Linked DNA regions of Homo sapiens: region 2 is linked to region 1. Evidence: promoter capture Hi-C in 16 types of primary human blood cells and fetal thymus (Javierre and others, 2016). All regions are on one chromosome and are shown on one strand. Each heading gives the region's core, a stretch centred on a gene start or on the middle of the fragment in contact. The rest is flanking DNA. Distances are from core to core; before and after follow the strand shown. Region 1 holds the start of CDHR2 (cadherin related family member 2). Region 2 has its middle 3.3 kb from the start of CLTB.

Region 1 (6,202 bases), core at 1,882-4,381:
GAGGTCCTGGGTCTTGCTTTTTCCACACGAGCTGCTCTCTCCCACTCCTGAGGTCCAGTGGTGTTGAATGCTCCTGTTCTCGGTCCACACCCTGCATTGTCCTTCCTCCATTTGCCTAAACCATTCCCTCTGCCCAGAATGTCTTTCTTTGCCTTCTGCCTACATGCAAATCCTCTCCATTCTGTAAGGCCCAGATCAGCTGTGGAGCTGTGTTCAGGCAGTTGGTGGCCCCCACTCTGGGCTCCTCATTTCCTGGTACCCCAGCAAGGGGCAGGAGCAAGGCACAAATGGAAACCGAGTGAATGGAGTTGCCCCTGGGCTGGGACTTGCGGACAGGCACCCGCTTTTCCCTGCTGGGGCAGCCTCAGGCCAACGCATGGGTGTGAAACAAGGTCCCAGTCACTGCACAACCGTACCCCTGGGCTCTTTTCTCTGTTTGCTCCTTTTAAAAATGGGAACTATTAACCGGGCGCGGTGACTCACGCCTGTAATCCCAGCACTTTGGCGGGCCGATTACGGGGTCGGGGTCAGGAGATCGAGACCATCCTGGCTAACATGGTGAAACGCCGTCTCTACTAAAAGTTCCCCAAAAAAAAAAAAAATATTAGCCAGGCGTGGTGGCGGGCGCCTGTAGTCCCAGCTACTTGGAAGGCTGAGGCAGGAGAATGGCGTGAACCCGGGAAGCGGAGCTTGCAGTGAGCCGAGATGCCGCTACTGCACTCCAGCTTGGGTGACAGAGCGAGACTCTGTCTCAAAAAAAAAAAAAAAAAAGAGAACTCTTGGCTAGGTGTGGTGGCAGTCCAGGCCAATACCAATAGTTCTCATTTTTTAAAGGAGCAAACACAGTCCAGCACTTTGGGAGGCTAGAGTGGGAGGATCACTTGAGCCCAGAAGGTTGAGGCTGCAGTGAGCCGAGATCGCGCCACTGCACGCCAGCCTGGGCGACAGAGCAAGACCTTGTCTCAAAAAATAAAAATAAAATAAAGTAATTTAAAATGGGGACTATCTATATTCCAGAAATTACTGCTTCCTTGTTCTCAAGCCCTCCGGCCACTACTGTTGTTTCCCTGCTCTCAAAAAATGCCTGGACCAGCCTGACCAACATGGTGAAACCCTGTCTCTACTAAAAATACAAAAATTAGCCAGGCATGGTGGCGCACACCTGTAATCCCAGCTATTCGGGAGGCTGAGGCAGGAGAATCACTTGAACCAAGGAGGCAGAGGTTGTGGTGAACTGAGATCGCACCACTGCACTGGAGCCTGGGCGACAAGCAAGACTCCATCTCACAAAAAAAAATTAGCCAGACGTGGTGGCGTGCACCTGTAATCCTAGCTAGTCAGGAGGCTGAGGCAGGAGAATCGTTTGAACCAGGGAGGCACAGGTTGCAGTGAGCCGAGATAGCGCCTTGCACTCCAGCCTGGGCAACAGAGTGAGAATCCGTCTCAAAAAGAAAGTGCTTAGGGAAGGACCAAAAAGGACACAGAGAAGAATCAGGGAGACTCTGGCCCCCACGCCATGAGATGTGTAGTCTCCAGGAATCCTCACTGGTCCCACCTGGCCCAGGAGGTGCCAGCTCTTCAGCCTTGGCTGAGAGGAGGCTTCAGCCGCATCTCAGAGCAGTCCACGGTGCCAAGATTTTCTAGAATTTGGAACCACTGGGAGTGAGGATACCCGGACTGCCCAGGACCTCCAGGAGGGTCAGGGTGGGGAGGTGGGTCCTCCTTCAGTGTGGGGAGCCCCCGGGGTGCACTCAGCCACGATGCTACAGAGCTCCCCCAGCACCGCCACCGCTACACGGCCAGCTCGCCATGCACTTTCACTTCTGCTTTTTCATTTACTTCTCACAGCTGTTCCCAAGCAGGAATTATCCTATCCTATTATTCCAAGGAAACCGAGGCTCATAGATGCCCAGAGATGGGTGAGCCAGGGGCAGCAGGTTAGACCCAGGCTGCCTCCAAATCCAGGGGTCCCTGGGCAAGCCTTGGTCTGGGCTCCGTTGATCCAGGAGGCCGTGCCTGCACCCACAGAGCGGACTCCAGCCGAGCCTGGGTGCCCGGAGCAAGGATGTGGGACCTGAGCACGCAGCTCCCCGCCACGGGCCCTCCCAGTGCCTATGGCCCAGGCCACCTGGCCCAGCAGACACATACAGACTCAAACAGCCCTGGGTTCAGATGGCAGCATTTCACATATTTGTTGTGCAACCCCAGGCAAGCCCTCTCCCCTCTCCAGGCCTCAGTTTCCCCTGCTGAGAAGCAGAGTGAGGATAAAAATCAAGGGGTCTACACACGGGCCATGACTTGTTTCCATCTGCCGGACCTCGGTGCTCACTGGGACCCTGCCTTGTGCCTGGTGCCCAACCCAGCACAGGCCTGCCTGAGTGACGCAGCATGGCCCCGACTCTCAGCTGGGTCACCACCTCCTCTACCAGGGCAGAGAGATGTGCAAGGCCCGGACTGGGCAGAGCTGGGGCCAGCCTGGGTCAGTCCCTGCCTGACACTTCCTAGCACTGGCTGAGGTGGCACTGGGCTCGGTCATAGGCCACATGCTCACCTTTGCCTCAGGGCTTTTCAGGCCCTTTCTGGAACTCTTCTCATCCCCATTTGATAAATGAGGAAACGGAGGCCCAGAAGAGTTAAGTAGCCCACCAAGGTCAGGGTGGAGCTGGGATGTGAACCGAGCAGCTGGGGTAAGAGCCCAGGTCAGCTTCCCCGTCCTCAACCCCTGAGCATCCTATGAAGGGGTCAGGCCAGTTACCTCGTTTCCCTGGGGTGCCTGCCTCCCTTCCATCCTCTGAAGAATCATCCCTTGAGGACTTGGATGGGAAGGGGGCCATCAGCCCCCAGGGAAGGAGGTATTATTATCCCATGTTTACCAAAGAAACAGGCCTCACAGCAGGCTGGGACCTGACCCGGCTCTGCCCCATCTAGCGTGTGACTTCCCCTGCCCAGCTTCAGGGGAGACTTTTAAAGACCCCCAAGCTTGCCTTGGCTCTAGGGATCCCCCCAACCCCCACATTTCTCTGGCCCAGAGACCCCCGATGAGCTGGATAGTCCCTACCTGTGTCCCCTTCGCCACGGAGGCGGCAGGCAGGCGCCGGACAGGCGCTGGCACACAGGTGGGCACCCTCTGCGGCCTGCAGCTATGTGGCCAGCAGACTTTGGCACCATCTCCACCTCCACTGAGCAATCATTAACCCTGCCAGAGACCACACCTCCCAGGAGGGGTCGACTCCTAATGAGGCAGAGTACAGCTGGGGGCGCCGGACAGGAGGAAGGGACCAAGGCGCCAGAGCTCCTGGCGCTCCTGGGGCTGGAGGCCCACACCACAGGAGAAGGGGCCTGGCCGACCCTGAGCCCAGAGGACCTGGGAACAAGGCCCAACACTGGGGCAGGCTGGAGGCGGGGACGGTGACAGTCAGAAGGTGATGCCAGAGCCCCCGTCCCCTCCCTGCTACGAGTCTTCAGTGACAGGGGATCTGTGGACAAGTGGGGGATTGAGTCAGGAGAGGGAAGTGGTAAAACAGTGTAACAATCAAACACTGTGTGGCCAGACCAGCCCCTGTGAGGTTCTCGTGGAGGACTGGGGGCTAGCTGAGCCTGGACAACCCACTTTCGAGCCTGTTGACACTGATCTCACCCCGCATTGAGACCCTCAAAAGGCATCTGCCCGTCCCCAGGGGCTTCATCCACTCCCAAGTTGCCTTTTTTTTTTAATTATTTATTTATTTTTGAGTCAGAGTCTTGCTCTGTCACCCAGGCTGGAGTGAAGTGGCACAATCTTGGCTCACTGCAATCTCTGCTTCCTGGGTTCAAGCAATTCTCCTACCTCAGCCTCTCGAGTAACTGGGATTACAGGCGTGGGCCTCCACACCCGGCTAATTTTTTTTGTATTTTTAGTAGAAACAGGGTTTCACCATGTTGGCCAGGCTGGTCTCGAACTCCTAACCTCAGGCGATCCGCCTGCCTCGGCCTTCCAAAATGCTGGGATTACAGGGATGAGCCACGGAGCTCGGCCCCCAGGCTGGCTTTAAGCGCTGCCCGATGTGGTGGCCTCCCGAAGGGGCTCAGCCACAAGTCCTTCTTATCCTCACTTTGGCCCAGCCATCACAGTTGACACAGAAAGGGGACCCTGGGCACAACTTTCTTAAGGCACACCACTGAGTCGTCACCATTGGGTGGCCCTCTTCTTGTGGGCAGAGGACATGTCTAATTCACAATAGATATATAGTCATGCACCATATATCTGTGTTTTGGTCAACAACGAACCACACATATAATAGCGGTCCCATAAGAGTATAATATCATCTTTCATGGCACCCTTTCTGTGTTTACATGCACAAATACTTACCCCTGTGTTACAGTTGCCTGCAGCGTGCGGTACAGTCCCAGGCTGCATAGGTTAGCAGCCCAGGAGCACAGGCGGTGGTATAGAGACTGGGTGTGTAGTAGGTGGTACCGCCTAGGTTTGTGTAAGTCACTGTGTGATGTTCACACAATGACGAAATTGCCTGATGACACATTTCCCAGAAGGTGTCCCCGTTGTTAAGGGTTGTGTTGACTGTATATCAGGCAGTTGCTATAGTCAGGCATTTTAATAGTTTGCTTCCCAACTCTCCAAATGTAAAACATAGTAACAAAATTTATACGCCACCAGCATAAAAAGAAGAAACCCAGATGAAGGGAAGTCAAGTGAGAAAAATAAGGGTAATCTACGCCTGAATTGAGGCCATAAAATACTTGTCTTGAGCTGGGGGCACTGCTGTGCACCTGTAGTCCCAGCTACTTGGGAGGCTGCAGCAGTAGGATGGCTTGAGGCCAGGATTTCTGTGCTGTAGGGCACTATGCTGATGGGGTGTCCACACTAAATTCAGCACTAATATGGTGAACCCCAAGGAGCAGAGGACCACTAGGTTGCCTCAGAAAGGCTGAACCAGCCCAGGTCAGAAACAGAGCAGGTCAAACTTCAGGTGCTGATCAGTAGTGAGACTGTGCCTATGAATAGCTACTGCACTCCAGCCTAGACAACAAGAGCTTCTCTCTCAAAAAATAAACAAATTATATATATATATATATTTGCCTTCAAGTTCTGGGTAATTGTAGAGATGGGTCATGAATCAGGTTCTGAGCTTCCCCCCAGGCAAAGAAAAAAGGGAATTGAGATCCATTGAGTCCAGCATCCATCCATTTTAAAACATTTGCATAGGCTGGTGGCTCGCGCCTGTAATCCCAGCACTTTGGGAGGCTGAGGCGGGTGGATCACCAGGTCAAGAATTCGAGACCAGCCTGGCCAAAATGGTAAAACCCTGTCTCTGCTAAAAATACAAAAAATAGCTGTGCACGGTGGCAGGTGCCTGTAATCTCAGCTACTCAGGAGGCTGAGGCAGGAGATTCACTTGAACCCGGGAGGCAGAGGTTGCAGTGAGCCAAGATTGTCCCACTGCACTCTAGCCTGGGTGACAGAGCAAGACTCCATCTCAAAAAAAAAAAAAAAGACCAAAAAGACCACTTTGCGTATAGCCAGGCTCTGGGAGCTATGATGCAGTTCTGAGTTTTGATACCCAAGAGGCTTTTCCTCTTTTTGAGAAGTGTTTCTGAGGAAAGGATGCTGCAGACACTGGGTAGCGCTCGATGCGACTATTACAATGCAGGGGTTAAGAGACCAGAGACCAGGCTCCTCTGGGGTCAGACTGCTGGGTTCAATTTTTTTTTTTTTTTTTTTTTTTTTTTGAGCACCATGTTGGCCAGGCTGGTTTCAAACTCCTGACCTCAGGTGACCCACCCGTGTCGGCCTCCCAAAGTACTAGGATTACAGGTGTGAGCCGCCCTGCCCAGCCACAATTTTTAATTTCATTTTATTTTTATTATTTTTTTTATCTACTGTATATTCACAATGGGTTCAATTTTGGCAGGGCAAGTTGCATAACCTCTCTAAGACGGTTTCCTTATCTGTAAGTTGCAGGTAATACATGATGCCTACCTGGGCAGGTGATGGTGAGGATGTAATGAAGTCACCCATTTGAAGTCCTGAGCACAATGCCCAACACAATAAGGTCTCAATGAATGTTAGTTTTCGTGGGGGCATGGTGGTGACTATTGCATTACTAATATCACCTCATTTAATCCTGCCAATAACTCCAGGGATGATTTTTTTCCCCATTACAGATGGGAAAATAGACCTTAGACAGATTAGATCACCACCCGA
Region 2 (6,056 bases), core at 426-2,925, 130 kb after region 1:
CAACCCTGTCCCTACTAAAAATACAAAATTAGCCAGGTGTGGTGGCACACACCTGTAATCCCAGCTACTCAGAAGGCTGAGGCAGGAGGGAGAATCGCTTGAACCTGGGAGGTGGAGGTTGCGGTGAGCCGAGATCACACCATTACAATTGCTAGAAACACAAAAACCTATCAAGACTAAACCATAAAGAAATAGAAAATCTGAGTAAACCTATAACTAGTGAGATTGGATCGGTAATCAAAAATCTCCTGACAAAGAAAAGCCCAGGATCTAATGGCTTCACTGGTGAATTCCATTAAACATTTAAAGAAGAACCAACTCTTCTCAAACTTCTCACAGAAATTGAAGAGAACACTTCCTAACTCTTTCTATGATGCCAGCATTATGCTGATACCAAAGCCAGATAAAGACACTACAAGTCCCAGTAATAGCATGAAAAAAAGAAGACACTAGTAGAAAAGAAAACTATGGATCATTATCTCTTGTGAACATTGATGCAAAAATCCTCAGCAAAATACTCAGTAACCGAATTCAACAGCACAATAAAAGGATTGTGTACCTTGACCAATGGGGTTTACACCCAGAATGCAAGGGTGGTTCACCATACAAGAATCAATCAATGTAATGTACTGCATTAACTGAATTAATTTAAAAAACACGGCTGGGCACGGTGGCTCACGCCTGTAATTCCAGCACTTTTGGAGGCCGAGGTGGGCGGATCACGAGGTCAGGAGATCGAGACCATCCTGGCTAACACAGTGAAACCCCGTCTCTACTAAAAATACAAAAAAATTAGCCAGGCGTGGTGGCGGGCGCCTGTAGTCCCAGCTACTCAGGAGGCTGAGGCAGGAGAATGGCGTGAACCCAGGAGGCGGAGCTTGCAGTGAGCCGAGATCGTGCTACTGCACTCCAGCCTGGGTGACAGAGCGAGACCCCGTCTCAAAAAAAAAAAAAAAACCATGCGATCATCTCAATAGAGCAGAAAAAACATTTGGCAAAATTCAACACCCTTTCATGATAAAAACAGTCAATAAAGTAGGAACAGAAGGTAGTTATATAATGTAACAAAAGCCATATATGAAAAATCTGGCCAGGTATGGTGGCTCACACCTATAATGCCAACACTTTTTGGGAGGCAGAGGCAGGAGGATCACTTAAGCCCAGTAGTTTGAGACCAGCTTGAGCAACATAGTGAGACCCAGCTCTATAAAAAAGAAAAGAAAAGAAATCCACAGCAAACATCATACTCCATGGTGGAAGACTGAAAGCTCATCCACTAGGATCAGGAGCAAGTAGAGAGTCAACCTAAAATAACGACAGGGAGAGTGGCTCTAAGAAAAAGTGAGATTACTTGGGAATGAATGACAAATTGTATATTAGTCCATTTTCATGCTACTGACAAAGACATTCCTGAGACTGGGCAATTTACAAAAGAAAGAGGTTTAATGGACTTACAGTTCCAAGTGGCTGGGGAAGTACACAATCATAGTGGAAGGCAAGGAGGAGCAACTAATGTCTTACATGGATGGCAGCAGGCAAAATGAGAGAAAAGCTTGTGCAGGGGAACTCCTCTTTATAAAACCATCAGATCTTGTAAGACTTATTCACTGTCACAAGAACTGCACAGGAAAGACTTGCCTCCATGATTCATTTACCTCCCACCGGGTCCCTCCTACAACATATGGGAATTCAAGATAAGATTTGGGAGGGGACACAGCCAAACCATATCAGATTGTGTGAAAGGAAAATAAAATCTCAGGACCTCAAACTCACTACTCAAAAGGAAAAGTTAAGCTTGGAAACTAAGCCACACAAAAAAACTGCCTTTCCTTTTGTTCCTAAACAGATAGGTATAAGATAGAAGGCCACATGTCTCCCCAGGTGGCCTCCCTCACCCTGACAATGTAAATTAACAGCTTATCTTCACAGGTGCGGGACAAAAGGAGACTAGAAATCATCCCCCCCACGCCCCTGTCAGACAAATGCATATTTGAACTCTTCCTCTACTCTCTGTTTATCTTATGTACAGATTTACTGAGTGCAAGATGAATATGTAATTGACTATTCCTCTACCCTGTCCTTTTCACATGGAACGTATGGATTCAGTGAGCTCTAATCAAAGCCTCAAAAGAATGCAATGGCTTATCTCACTTGTCTACCTTCCTTTTTTTCCCCTTTCTTCTTTCTCCTCCTGCCCACTTTTTCCCCTTTAAATAATGAAGTCCTCAAAATCTTCTTTGGAAAAAAGTGCATGCCACAGATCATACTGTGTCTTGTGTCTCTTCTTCTTGGGTGTGCCTGCAACCTTGGCAAAATAAACCTCTAAATTGATTGAGACCTGTCTGTGATACTTTCTTGTTTACAGTTGCATCCCAGGGAATACATGTACTATGGTGAACCATGGAGGGGGGCACTCAGAGAGAAAAAGGAAGGAAAGGGGTTTTAAAGGCAAAATGAGGAAGGCTACGTAAGTTGTTTTGAAAAAATTATCCTTGGCTACAAGGATTGATAACAAGGGTAGCATTATTCCAAGATTGAACAGGCAATTGCTGGGCAGGTGTCATTGCAGAAATATTCTTCGTGCATGGGTGTGACGGCCTTTGTGCAAGATTGTGGTTTCAGACAATCCTTGTTTTTTGTTGTTGTTGTTGTTGGGTTTTTTTTTTTTTCTTGAGACGGAGTTTTGCTCTTGTTGCCCAGGCTGGAGTACAATGGGGCAATCTCGGCTCACTGCAACCTCTGCCTCCCAGGTTCAAGCAATTCTTCTGCCTTAGCCTCCTGAGTAGCTGGGATTACAGGTGTGTGCCACCACACCCAGCTAATTTTGTATTTTTAGTAGAGACGGGGTTTCATCATGTTAGGTTGGTCTTGAACTCCAGACCTCAGGTGATCCGCCCATCTCAGCATCCCAAAGTGTTGGGATTACAGGCATGAGCCACCGTGCCCAGCCTCAGACAGTCCTTGTAATATTTTCTATCATAGGCATGTGTGCATGGGAGCCCCTCATTTATGGCCTCCTGAGTCCATTTTGCTAGGGTTTGGCATAAGTGACTCCAGTTTGATTTGGACAACTTGTGCAGAAGGATGCCCACTTTTGGTATTTCTATTCAACATAGTACTGGAAGTCCTAGCCAGAGAAATTAGGCAAGAAAAAGAAATAAAAGCAACCCAGATTGGAAAGTAAGAAGTATCTCTGTTTGCAGATGCTATTTATTTATTTAGAGACAGGGTCTCACTCTCATTGCCCAGGCTGGAGCGCAGTGGTGTGATTGTTATAGGACAGGGGTCCCAATCCAGACCCCAAGAGAGGGTTCTTGGATCTCACGCAAGAAAGAATTCAGGGTGAGTCCTTGGTGCAAAGCGAAAACAAGTTTATTAAGAAAGTAAAGGAGGGGCCGGGCACGGTGGCTCACGCCTGTAATCCCAGCACTTTGGCAGGCCGAGGTGGACAGATCATGAAGTCAAGAGATCGAGACCATCCTGGCTAACAGGGTGAAACCCCGTCTCTACTAAAAATACAAAAAAAAAAAAAATTAGCTGAGCATGGTGGCAGGCTCCTGTAGTCCCAGCTACTTGGGAGGCTGAGGCAGGAGAATGGCGTGAACCCGGGAGGTGGAGCTTGCAGTGAGCCGAGATCGCACCACTGCACTCCAGCCTGGGCAACAGAGCGAGACTCCACCTCAAAAAAAGAAAAAGAAAGTAAAGGAATAGAAGAATGGCTACTCCATAGACAGAGCAGCCCCAAGGACTGCTGGTTGCATATTTTCATGGCCATTTCTTGATGAAATGCTAAACAAGGGGTGGATTATTCGTGCCTTCCCTTTTTAGACCGTATAGGGTAACTTCCTGATGTTGCCATGGCATTTGTAAACTGTCCTGGCACTGGTGGGAGTGAGGATGACCAGAGGTCACTCTTGTCACCATTTTGGTTTTGGTGGGTTTTGGCTGGCTCCTTTACTGCAACCTGGTTTTTGTTGTTGTTGTTTGTTGGTTTGTTTGTTTTTTGAGACTGAGTCTTGCACTGTCACCCAGGCTGGAGTGCAGTGGTGAGATCTCGGCTCACTGTAACCTCCGCCTCCCGGGTTCAAGCAATTCTCCTGCCTCAGCCTCCCAAGTAGCTGGGATTACAGGCACCTGCCACCATGCCCAGCTAATTTTTTGTATTTTTAGTAGAGACGGGGTTTCACTATATTGACCAGGCTGGTCGCAAACTCCTGACCTCACAATCCGCCCACCTTGGCCTCCCAAAGTGCTGGGATTACAGGCGTGGGCCACCTTGCCCAACACTGCAAACTGTGTTATCAGCAAGGTCTTTATGACTTGTATTTTGTGCTGACCTCCTATCTCATCCTGTGATTTAGAATGCCCTAACCGTCTGGGAATGCAGCCCAGTAGGTTTCAGCCTCATTTTACCCAGATCCTGTTTACGACGGACTTGCTCTGATTCACACACCTCTGACACAATCATAGCTCACTGCAACCTTGACTTCCCGGGCTCAGGTGATTCCCTCACCTCGGCCTCCTGAGTAACTGGGACTACGGGCACCATACCACCATGTCTGGCTAATTTTTTGTAGTTTTAGTAGTGATGGGGTTTTGCCACGTTGTCCAGACTGGTCTCAAACTCCTGGGCTCAATCTATCCACCCACTTCCACCTCCCAAAGTGCTGGGATTACAGGTATGAGCCATGGCACCTGGCTAATAAGCTCTTATCTGCAGAAAACCCTAAATATTCCACACACAAAAAATGTTAGAGCTAATAAATGAATTCAGCAAAGCAGCAGGATACAAAGCCAATGCACAAAAATCAGTTAAATTTCTATGCATTAACAATACGCAATCAAAAAAGAAGATAAAACTTCCACTTACAATAACATCAAAAAGGCCAGGTGTGTTGGCTCATGCCTGTAATCCCAGCTCTTTGGAAGTCTGAGGATGAGAGGATCACTTGAGCCCAGGAGTTGAAGCTGTAGTGAACTATAATCGTACCACTACACTCTAGCCTGGGCAAGAGTAAGATCCTGTCTCAAAACAAAAAACAAACAAACAACAACAACAAAACCATGCAAATGGACAGCAATAAATAAATACATTAATTTAATTAAATAAAACAATAAAAACCCCCCCAAAAACAGTAACATCAAAAGGTGCTCAAGTTGTTACCAATTAAACTGAAAGTTCCAGCTGGGCTTGGTAGCTCACACATGTAATCCCAGTGTTTTGGGAGACCAAGGCAGGAGGATCCCCTGAGGCCAGCAGTTCAAGACCAGCCCAGTTAATATAGCGAGGCCCTGTCTCTAAATAAAAAAATTAAAAAGAAAAAAAAAAAAACACCTGGAAGGTCCCTTCACCCCAACTCCACTTCCACCCCCAACTTGGCGGCACATCTTTCCTTTCGCTCTTCCAGTCCATATTTCATAGTTGCCTTTCAAGTCCCACATTAGAAATAGCAGACAGCCCAAATCCCATGGTGTTTCTTTGCATCGTCTCCCTATACCCCGTGTTTAAATGTCACAGCGCCTCACACACAGTGCTTTGACAGGCCATTTGCCATCTGTTGGTCTCACCGGATTGTAATCTCCGCATGGCCATGGCTGGATTTTATAAAACGTTGCTGTCCTGGTGCTTGGCAAAGCGCAGGCAGGGAGGAGGCATTCAGAGCCTGTTCACAGAGGGCAGCGGGCAGCGTGGAGAGTGGTAGGCTGCCTGGGTAAACCAGGTCTGCCTTTCTCAGGCTGGTTCATACCTAAAGGACATTTAAGGGGCCTAGCTGGCCATCCAAACTCTGGTCGTATGAACTGAAGCCTCCTCAAGGGAGATACACAAAAAAATACACAAAACAACACGGCCTAGTGGGAAAGGACCTGGACTTGCATGAAAAGGTGCGGGGCAGCCTTTCCCAGCCTCAATTTTCCTCTTCTTACAGAGGCGGAGGCTCATAGAATGAGGTGCATGACATCCCAACCTAGGAGAAGAAACTTCTGCAGAATGAATCAGGAGCCAGGTCTGCGCTCCCGAGGCCAGAGGTGGCCTCCTGTCGCAGCTCTGTGCACGG

What was found. Contacts are between HindIII fragments. The CHiCAGO score rates a contact against its expected background, and 5 or more counts as called.
Region 2: a contact is called between a fragment that was not itself captured here and the fragment with the promoter of CDHR2 in region 1, in 8 of 17 cell types (naive CD4 T cells, total CD8 T cells, non-activated CD4 T cells and 5 more). The highest score is 7.4, in naive CD4 T cells.

What each region holds. Positions count from the first base shown.
Region 1 is chr5:176,546,271-176,552,472 of GRCh38, reverse strand. It overlaps CDHR2 (cadherin related family member 2), which reads right to left and starts at 3,131. Exons shown (of 32, transcript NM_017675.6): 1 at 3,059-3,131. It also overlaps the pseudogene RN7SL684P. RefSeq lists enhancers at 1-277, 1,926-2,859. The HindIII fragment of the contact is 9,099 bases long and covers 2,982-6,202 here.
Region 2 is chr5:176,416,798-176,422,853 of GRCh38, reverse strand. No RefSeq gene overlaps it. Among named protein-coding and RNA genes, the nearest start is that of CLTB, 3.3 kb to the right of the region's middle. RefSeq lists a silencer at 6,023-6,056. The HindIII fragment of the contact is 242 bases long and covers 1,555-1,796 here.